Regions from separate parts of the Homo sapiens genome. Here region 1 is linked to region 2. Evidence: promoter capture Hi-C in 16 types of primary human blood cells and fetal thymus (Javierre and others, 2016). All regions are on one chromosome and are shown on one strand. Each heading gives the region's core, a stretch centred on a gene start or on the middle of the fragment in contact. The rest is flanking DNA. Distances are from core to core; before and after follow the strand shown.

The links. Contacts are between HindIII fragments. The CHiCAGO score rates a contact against its expected background, and 5 or more counts as called.
Region 1: a contact is called between a fragment that was not itself captured here and the fragment with the promoter of MCC in region 2, in 6 of 17 cell types (endothelial precursors, naive CD4 T cells, total CD4 T cells and 3 more). The highest score is 6.1, in endothelial precursors.

What each region holds. Positions count from the first base shown.
Region 1 is chr5:113,335,285-113,339,778 of GRCh38, reverse strand. All of the region lies in intron 3 of MCC (MCC regulator of Wnt signaling pathway), which reads left to right. It overlaps LOC124901045 (a long non-coding RNA gene), which reads right to left. Exons shown (of 3, transcript XR_007058904.1): 3 at 14-3,392. Among named protein-coding and RNA genes, the nearest start is that of TSSK1B, 97 kb to the left of the region's middle. The HindIII fragment of the contact is 1,371 bases long and covers 1,497-2,867 here.
Region 2 is chr5:113,485,642-113,490,394 of GRCh38, reverse strand. It overlaps MCC (MCC regulator of Wnt signaling pathway), which reads left to right and starts at 1,942. Exons shown (of 19, transcript NM_001085377.2): 1 at 1,942-2,150. The coding sequence starts at 1,981. RefSeq lists an enhancer at 1,749-2,043. The HindIII fragment of the contact is 3,844 bases long and covers 1-2,909 here.

The DNA.
Region 1 (4,494 bases), core at 933-3,432, 150 kb after region 2:
GCTTTGATGTAGACCAGTGGTTTTCAAACTCTGTGTTTGAGGCACACTTTCTAATTCTGACACTTTTGGTGGGATGTTTGAAGGAACTAGCAATTGTAAATATGGCAACAATAATTAAAATACAATCATCAGAAAAATCCCAATTAAATGACAGTCTACAAAATACGTAACCAAAACTCCTCAAAACTGTCAAGGTTATCAAAAACAAGGAAAGTCTAATAAAGAGAAACTGTCCAGCTAAGAGAAGCCTAAGAAAATACGACAACTAAATGGAATGCATATCCTCAATGGGATCCTGGATCAGAAAAAAAGGACATTACAGTAAAACACACATGCACGCACACACACACACACACACACACACACACACTAAGGAAGCCTAGATAAAATATGGACTTTAGTTAATAATAGTGTGTCAACATCAGTTTATTATGACTAGTATACCAAAATAATGTAAGATGTTAATAAGTAGGAAAAACTATTTGTGGGGTATATGATTACTCTCTCTCCTGTCTTTGCAAATTTTGTCTAAAACTATTTGTTTTTTTTTTTGAGATGGAGTTTCGCTCTTGTTGCCCAGGCTGGAGTGCAATTGCGCAGTCTTGGCTCACTGCAACCTCCGCCTTCCAGGTTCAAGCAATTCTCCTGTCTCAGCCTCTCAAGTAGCTGGGATTACAGGTACCTGCCACACCTGGCTAATTTTTGTATTTTTTTTTTTTAGTAGAGACAGGGTTTTCACCATGTTGGCCAGGCTGGTCTCGAACTCCTGACCTCAAGTGATCCACCCGCCTTAGCCTAAAACTATTATAAAATAAAAAATTTATTAAAAACATATAAACATGCACAGTCACTGCTAGGGTATGATAATGTCTCATAAAATCTGTAAAAACATTCATAGTTATTGCACTGTTTGTCACTTGGCCACACTTCAAGGACATTCTTGCACAGTTTGAGTAGAACTCTAACTATCCTAATCTTGCCCTCCTATGTGCTCAGGAGATTAGGCGATTATCAGTGAATATGTCATCTTTCTCTGGCATAGGCCTGGACTTAGGCTATGCCTGCTTCAAATAATTTGCAGCAAGTTGAACCCTCCTCTGTACTATATCAGCTCAGCCTTTTCTCAAGACAGACATTGCCATAACAGGATGGGTTATAGCAGAAATCAGTGTTAAACAGAGATCAAAATTTGATGGTACCTTCTCTGGAGGGTTCCAGGTTCATGGCCGACCAGTTTTCTGCAGCAAATCTGCTATTGAAAACTGTGGGAGTTGGCTGTTTCCTATCTCTGTATGACTCTGTGGTTCCCAGCTTCTCCAGTAACCTCCTGGACTGATTTCTGTTCTCCTGTCTCTCCTGATTGGAGGCCAGCTCAGCCCTTGGGGTTCCCACAGCCAGGTTCTCTAAGTTGGCTCTTCAGGGGAGTCAAGGCACAGAGAGCTCTCACATACCCCACAGTCATATACATACCCTCTTTTTACTTTACTGGTTAAGCTTTAGAAATGAGGGAACACTGCCTAACATTTCCTCTGCACACTCACTTAAGGCGATCCCTTGGCAAGAACTGAACCATGAATGCAAATGCAGGCACTGAAGTCCTATGACTATGATTACACTATTTATTTCCTCACCAAATGGAAAAGTAAAACTTTAAAAATACCATTTGAATTCACAGACCCATTTTTAATGCCCTTGGACCCTGTGGTAGAGTACATTTTGGGCCCCAGTTCTTCATCCTGTCCTGTGTCTTCACCATTTGTCATGCAACTCTAGAGTCCTTCTGTCAGATACGTGAGAGTGATACATGATGGTTGTTTTAACCATTGTGTTTGCGGTAGTTTGTTTCATAGCCATAGTGACTCAGGGTCTACTCAGAAGGGTCTGTAGAGCCCGATTTGAGAAATACCCTTCCCAGGTGGCCAAAGAAAGCAAATAGTCTCTTGAAACTGCACATTTGGGCAATCCCTTTATTTATATAATCACATTAAAAGTAATTTATGTCCCTTCTAAGGAAAAATCTTGAACTAATAAAATTAAGTTTTATTATTTTTCTTTTAAATAGCTACTAAGAGCAAAAGGCATTTTATCAGTGTCTAGTTAGGAGACAGAAAGCACACAGTAATTCACACAGGGAAAGTTTAATATAAATGATTATTAACTAGTAGCAGAGGATTACCTACTAAGGGTAAAGAAAACCGTACTGAACACAGGAATAGCACATACGAAGAACAGCCACTACCCCTAAGGCTGTTCCCAAGGAAAGAGTACCAAAGAAGGAACAAATTTGGAAGAGGGCCCTCCCCTCACCCAGGGCTGATTCAGACCCCTTTCAAAGAAAGTCTGCAGCCCACTGAATTGCAGAGAATTTCCCTGAGATGTTGCAGGCCAGGGCTGGCAAGCAGGAAACCAAACTTCTGAACCTTCGTCCAGCCTCCTGGTATACCACCCATTGGGGCATCTGCAAGACTCATCAGGTATCACTGAGGTGTCCTCCGAGGTGCCAGAGGGATTCACTGGGAAGCTGCCTGCTGGAGTGGTGGCAAACCCACTGAAAAGTCCCCCAAATACTGCCACTAAAACTTAATAGGGTGAGTCACTAGATGTCCTATGCTGCTGGCGCCTACCCACCACAAGAGCTAGCAGGGGAGAGCACAGCAGTCAAGCCACGAGAGTCAAGCTGAGTTCCCTTCTTCCTACAGTGTCCCTCCAGCACCCTCTATTGACAAAGGAGAAATGTTTACATGGTCCAGCTCCAAGACCACAAAACAGGACAAAGAAAGCTGGATTTGGAGATGAGAAGCAACAAATGATAACTAGCACAGACATTTTTAGCATTGAGGATTTCCTGAGAGATTCCTACATAAGCTTTTTACCTTTCTAAGCATCTCTTCCTTTTCTTCTACCACCAATCACCAGTCTTCTCCTTCTACCTAAGACAGTGGATACCATGAGGCTTAACATACCGTTCACAATGCAAAGGCAACAAGACAGTGTTGTACACAGATACTTACAGCAGCCATGGTTTTATCGAAGTAGCAAAATGGCCACACATTATACAGAATAAGAGATTTATTATCCTAAGGGCTAGACCTTACACAAATGTGAGAGCTGGTGATGCAATCTATGAAGACTATTGGTTCTGTGTCTAGTGCTGAGCCTGAAGTTACTATAGGTTTGTCAGATCAGCTGTTAAGAGGGAAAGCTAGATGTATAGGAGAGTAGGGACAAACCAGAACTCATGAGGACCAATGGGACCATTGAGGACAAACTGGAACCCTCTTCTGTGTCTTACCATGTCCAACCTTGATGCTGCGGGTGACCTGCAGGAGAAACTGGCACTATCTCCTGCAGTGTGTCTCCTGCACACACACTTGGCCCAGGACTCAGAGAAGCTGAAGGAGGAGATTTAGTGAATTAGAATTACTGCAAGCCTGGTACACCAAGTAGTTAAGCAGCAGATTAGCAATAATGTGTGCAAGTGGACAAGGTGCATAGTGCCTGCTATGGTTTGTTTTCCCCTCCAAAATTCATATGGAAATTTTTTTGCCATTATAACAGTATTAAGAGGTGGGACAATTAAGAGGTGATTAGGCCATGATGGCTCCACCCTCATGGGTGGGATTGGTGCCATTTTAAAAGGACAGGTTCCTCTCTCTCTCTCCCACTCCCTGTCTCTCTCTCTTTCTTTTTCTCTCACCTTCTCCTTGCCCTTGCACTCTTTCACCATGTGATAACACAGTAAGAAGTCACCTGACAGATGCCAGCACCTTAATATTGGGCTTCCCAGCCTCCAGAACTATAAGCCAATAAATTTCTATTCATTATAAATTACCCGGTTTCAGATATTCTGTGATAGCAGCACAAAACAGACTACGACAGTAACTCTGTACCAAGTTTCAGAGCATAAAAAGTATGACTTCTTTACTTCTTCCTTCTGGATTTCACACAGAATGTCTCTCATGGCCATACAGAACCATACAAGAAAGAGAACTCTGGGGAATGTGGTTCCAGCTTAGCTGAATTTAGTACCAAGTCACCACAAAGCAGCAGCAAAACTCAGTGTAATCTAAGCCCTATTCATAAAACTATGGGTAAAGCAATATGAGATATTTTAAGAGTCTGGTAAAGAGGGTATGCAGTGGGAAAGATGTACTGCCTGTTTTCTGATAGATTTTTTCTACAAAGATTTGTATTACCAGGAAATAATGCTAGTATAAATTATAATGTTATGGATTCTGAGTAGTAACATATGTAAGTATTCTAAAACATAAAACGTAACAGAAGTTTCATTTTCTAGATACAGCAGAGATAAATTCCTGAATGAAATAGCAATGTCTAGATAAATTCTGTGAGCTATACTACTTGGTTTTTAAAGTATTAATTATAGGTTTTATTTTTTATTAATAAAAGTATTAATTGATGTACATTAAAATTAATTATACTAGAAGAGAAGCCATGTGGACAACAGAAAGTTGATGAGAAGTAAAAGTAATC
Region 2 (4,753 bases), core at 693-3,192:
ATGAAAAGTCCAAGGTCAATGGGCCACCCTGCTGGTGGGGACTCTGTGCAGAGTCCCAAAACAGTGCAGGGCATCACATGGCAAGGGGGCTGAGCCTGCTAACTCAGGTCTCTCCTTCTCTTCTTATAAAGTCACTAGTCCCACTCCCATGATAACCCATTAACTCATTAACTCATGAATCTATGATTTTAGTGCCCTGAAATACTGGGAACTTAGAGAATAATAAAGAAGTAAAGTAGGAATAGGTAGATGGGGTGGAGAGGAGGAGAAAGAGAGCAGAGATTCCTTCCTTCTGACCTAGCAGACATTCCCAAGACATATGGACTTGTTCCAGTTATATATTGCTGCATAACAAATCACCTCAAAACTTAATGGCTTAAAACAACAATTTTTAATTATTATCTTCACAGCTCTGGGGGTTGGTTAGCCAGTTTTGCTCAGGGTCTCCAATGCAGTTGCAGCATCTAGAGCTAGCATCATCTCTCACTCATGTCTGGCACCTAGTCTGGGAAGATTCTAAGATCCAGGGCTAGAACAGCTGTAGCTCTTTGGTCATCTCCTTTTTTCTTTACATGGTCTTTCTGCATGGTTTCTCCAGCTTCAGGGTAGCCAAACTTCTTTTCAGGCAGCTCAAGGCTTCAAAGGTAAGTGTCCCAAGGGAGAGAGCCAAGTGCAATCTGCATTGCCTTTTCTAACCTAGTCTCAGAAGTCAAGGCAGTCACAAGTCCAATCCAGGTTTAGGGGAAGCAACAGACTCCACCTCTTGATGAGGGGTGCACCAAAGAATCTGTGGACATATTTTAAAACCACCAGAGAACTTCACACGCCTCTCTGGCAGAAAATCCAGGACAGAATAATGAGTCATTCACGAAACCACAAATTGCTTCACTGTGGTTTCCCTTTGGCTATGGGGGAATAGTGCAGTGTTTAAAGGCTCCTGCTCTGGAGTTAGGCTGCCCGGGCTTGCCTCTGCCCTAACACTTACTAAACCTGGAACCTTGAGCAGGTCTTGGTACCTCAGTTTTCTTACCTGTAAATTGGGAACAATGAGAGCTAACAGTTGTTGAGCACTTACTAGGTGTCAGACATTGTCCTAACTGCATTATGTCTGCTCTCCTTTTATATGTAAGATAACTCTATGAGGTACTTATCTATTAATACTTCCTAAGTCGTAGGATTGATAATAAAAGAGGCATCTTCCAGGTCTGTAGTGTGGATCAAATGAGACCATCTATTATGTTCGCTCTTGGCATTATTAAAGCTGTTGGGGGAAATTCTAGTGATGCCTGGCCAGTAGAGTGAGCCGTTTCCAGAAATTGACCCAACGTACACAATGCCACACAGCGTGCAGACTCTTCCCAGTACAGAGTGGGAGCCAAGATGAGGGCTGCGAGGGCCAGGTTTCTTGACAGGTGTCAAAATTTCATAAAAAGGCCAGTCATTCCGGTTCTCATTGGTGGCTATGGGTACAGAACCCGGAACAATCCTGGAGAGTGGGATTACAAGCACCGTTTTGAGTTTGCAGAAGGAGAGTGTTTATATAGCTTCTCTGGAAAAGGAAGCCATGACTCCGGGCGGTCGGAGAAGGTCTGCCGGGAGTACACCTGCCCTCTGCCTGAAGCGTCCCCAAGTGTCCCGGGCCCGCGTCGTTGCCGGATGCACAATGCTGACACCCTTCCCGGGGGCTTCCAGTGTATTCTGCCTCCTCTTGTGTTCCCGTTGCCACCCTTAGCTCCCTGACTCTTCCAGCCACCTTCCCCTCCTCCCTCTTCCCTGAGGTGCCTCCTCGGGCGATTCCAGAGCGCCCATCTTCCCAGTCCGGGCAAAACCCGGAGAGGTGGAATCCCTCGCCCGGAGCGCCCCGGCGGCCACTGGGCATGCTCCGTTGTCAGGCAAGTTCGGGGCTGCAGGCAGCTTGCGCGCCGCGCGGATTCCAGCTGCGGTCGCGCGTACTCCTCCTCCCAAGTAGGGAGCGGGCGCATGATGGCGGCCGCGGCGGCAGCGGCTGCGGGGAGCTCCAGCAGCGGCGGCGGCGGCGGCGGCAGCGGCAGCAGCAGCAGCAGCAGCGACACGTCCAGCACCGGCGAGGAGGAGAGGATGCGGCGCCTCTTCCAGACGTGCGACGGCGACGGGGACGGATACATCAGCAGGTACGCGGGGAGGTACGAGGAAACCGACAGGAGCGAGATCAGTCCCTCCGCGCGCCCTTGACCCCTGCTCTGCCCCCTCGCCCCAACTTGCGGCAAGTTGCTCAGAAGCTCGCGGGAAAAGTTGGCCGCGACTCCGAGAGCGCGTAGCCGGCTCGGCCACGAAGGCCGAGGGGACTGCTCTGTTCGCCTTGCGGGGGTGCCAGTTGGTCCAACTTTTCCCAGCGCTGTCTTTGTCTAGGCGTTGGGAGACATCTCCTTAGGATGCGCACTCTTCCGGGGGCTTGGAGTGTTCTTCCCTGTGGGAAAAGGAGTTCTGGCCGCTTGTCCCAGGTAGGAGGGGCTGCCCCACAGCCTCGGGGTCCTGGGCATCAAGATGCCGCAGCACGGGGCAGCGATCTGCCCGGCGGCTTGGTGGACACCCCAGGGCCGCACCGGGAGGAGATGAGCTAAGCGACAGCCTCGGACAGGGAAATAACCTGTGAAGAAACTTTCTTGTGCCGCAGAACCCATGAATTCCAAACTTCAGAGCCCAAAGAATGGGTATCGTTTGCCACCCAGTATTGATTTAAACGCAGTAGCCTGAGAGGAACGAAGCGCTCAGGAGCAAACTAGGGCTAGACCCGACTCCTACCCGGCTCTGTGCGCTGACCAGGTGAGCTTCGGCGTGGCTCCGGGCGCCTCCGCGCCTCCACTCACAAACAAACTTTGGGGTGTTTGCTTCGGATCCCCCGCACTTCCTACAGAGGCGGTATTTAAGCTTCCTGCCTCCCGGCTTGGCCAAATAATTACTTCTGCCCAAATTTGTGTCACTTAGACTCTTGTGGTGAAGAAGGCAATCGCAACATTTTCTGGTATGCTTCTATTGAATGGTTGACACCGGCCATTGAAGACTTGGTATCCGTGGAAATTTGAATTGCCTTGGATGAAGGAGCAGCCTAAGTTGTGCATTACATGTTTCTTTAGTCTATGTCTTGGTGATGCTAAAGATCGTTTCTGAAAATCCGGGGCTGCTTCCTGATTGTCCCTGCCTACCTAAAAAAAAAAAAAAGAAAGCAAAGTGCGGAATTTTTCCCTTAAAATAAAAAAAATTATTTATTTGGGACTCAACGCAATTTTGATCATTCTTAGGTGAATTTTTATTACTTTGCTAAAGTTTTACTGAGAAACATTAGGAAGATATCAGAAAACTTGATGGAGTAATTCTGTTCGGAAATGAAAATAATATGTAATTCTGATTGACTCCATGCAAATTTCTATCTGGAAGTCTCGTTATTTTGGTTCTGGGAGTAAAAGAAATTTCATTATATAGTTTTCCTTTTTGTTGTTTTCCTACTTGAAAGGTTATTATCTCATTTGCAATAATAAAGGCAAACTCCAACTTTGGATACAATTTTTTTTTTTTTTAGACAGAATCTCGCTCTATCACCCAGGCTGGAGTACAGTGGCGTGGTCTTGGCTCACTGCAACCTCCGCCTCCTGGTTCAAGAGATTCTCCTGCCTCAGCTTCCCGAGTAGCTGGGATTACAGGTGCCCACTACCACTCCCGGCTAATTTTCGTATTTTTAGTAGAGAAGGGGCTTCACAATTTGGCCAGGCTGGTCTCGAATTCCTGACCCTAAGTGATCCGCCCGCCTCGGCCTTAGGAAGCGCTGAGATTACAGGCCTGAGCCACCGCTCCCCGCATGGATGCAAAAAAGTTTAATTTCACACGGGCAAGAGTGCATACAGAAAACTAGCAGCGTGCTATCCTTTTCTAATTTGGCCTATTAATATATTGCTTTATCTGAACTACACTTTCTATATAAATGCTCACATTATTTTCGGTGATTCTACCCGGGAGGATAATGAATTCTGTAAGCGTAATTTGAGTAAAGTGGGTGGTGATAAAGAAGCCGTTTTGGATTAGAGTAGAAACTGGCTGGGGCAAAAGTGGAAAAAGTTGTTAACATTCCTTGAGCTGCATTACTTTAATGTGTCTGCTTAAAAGTTTCAAGGTATGTGTAGTAATGAACCCTAAATCATAACTTTAACTGTGGGTGGAGCTGCCCTGAAAATTATGCTGTGGCAGAATTGCCATGTAGGAGAAGTTTAGGGATGGCAATCTAGGGCAACAAGGAACTTGTCTGGAAGTGTGTTTACCTGGTAAGCACAGTTTTACCTGGAATTTACGTTTATGTGGTAAGACTTGGGGAATGGGGCTAATGAAGGTAAGGGGCATTAAATGATTCCCTCTCTGAAGCCACTTTTCTGTGCTGCTTTCATTTAATGACCTGTACTTACCACTCTGTAGTGGGTGATGTGGTTTGGAGGGTTGTGCATTCCTGTTCTATCAGACATGAGAGTTGGACTTTTTAACATTAAAACCTTAAAAACTTTGGATTCATCTAAAGACGTTAAATTTATGTTCCTGGTAGACAGCTGTATCTGTTAGAATTTCAGATGACTATATGTCATCACAGTAACCTAACCATAGTCAAGTAAGGGTTGGCTTTGTCACCTAGTAGAAATCTGGAGGTAGGCTATCTAGGTTGGGGCAGCAGCTCTGCGGTGGTGTCAGTCCCCAGCTACCTTCTACCTTTCTCCAACACCATTTTTCACATAAA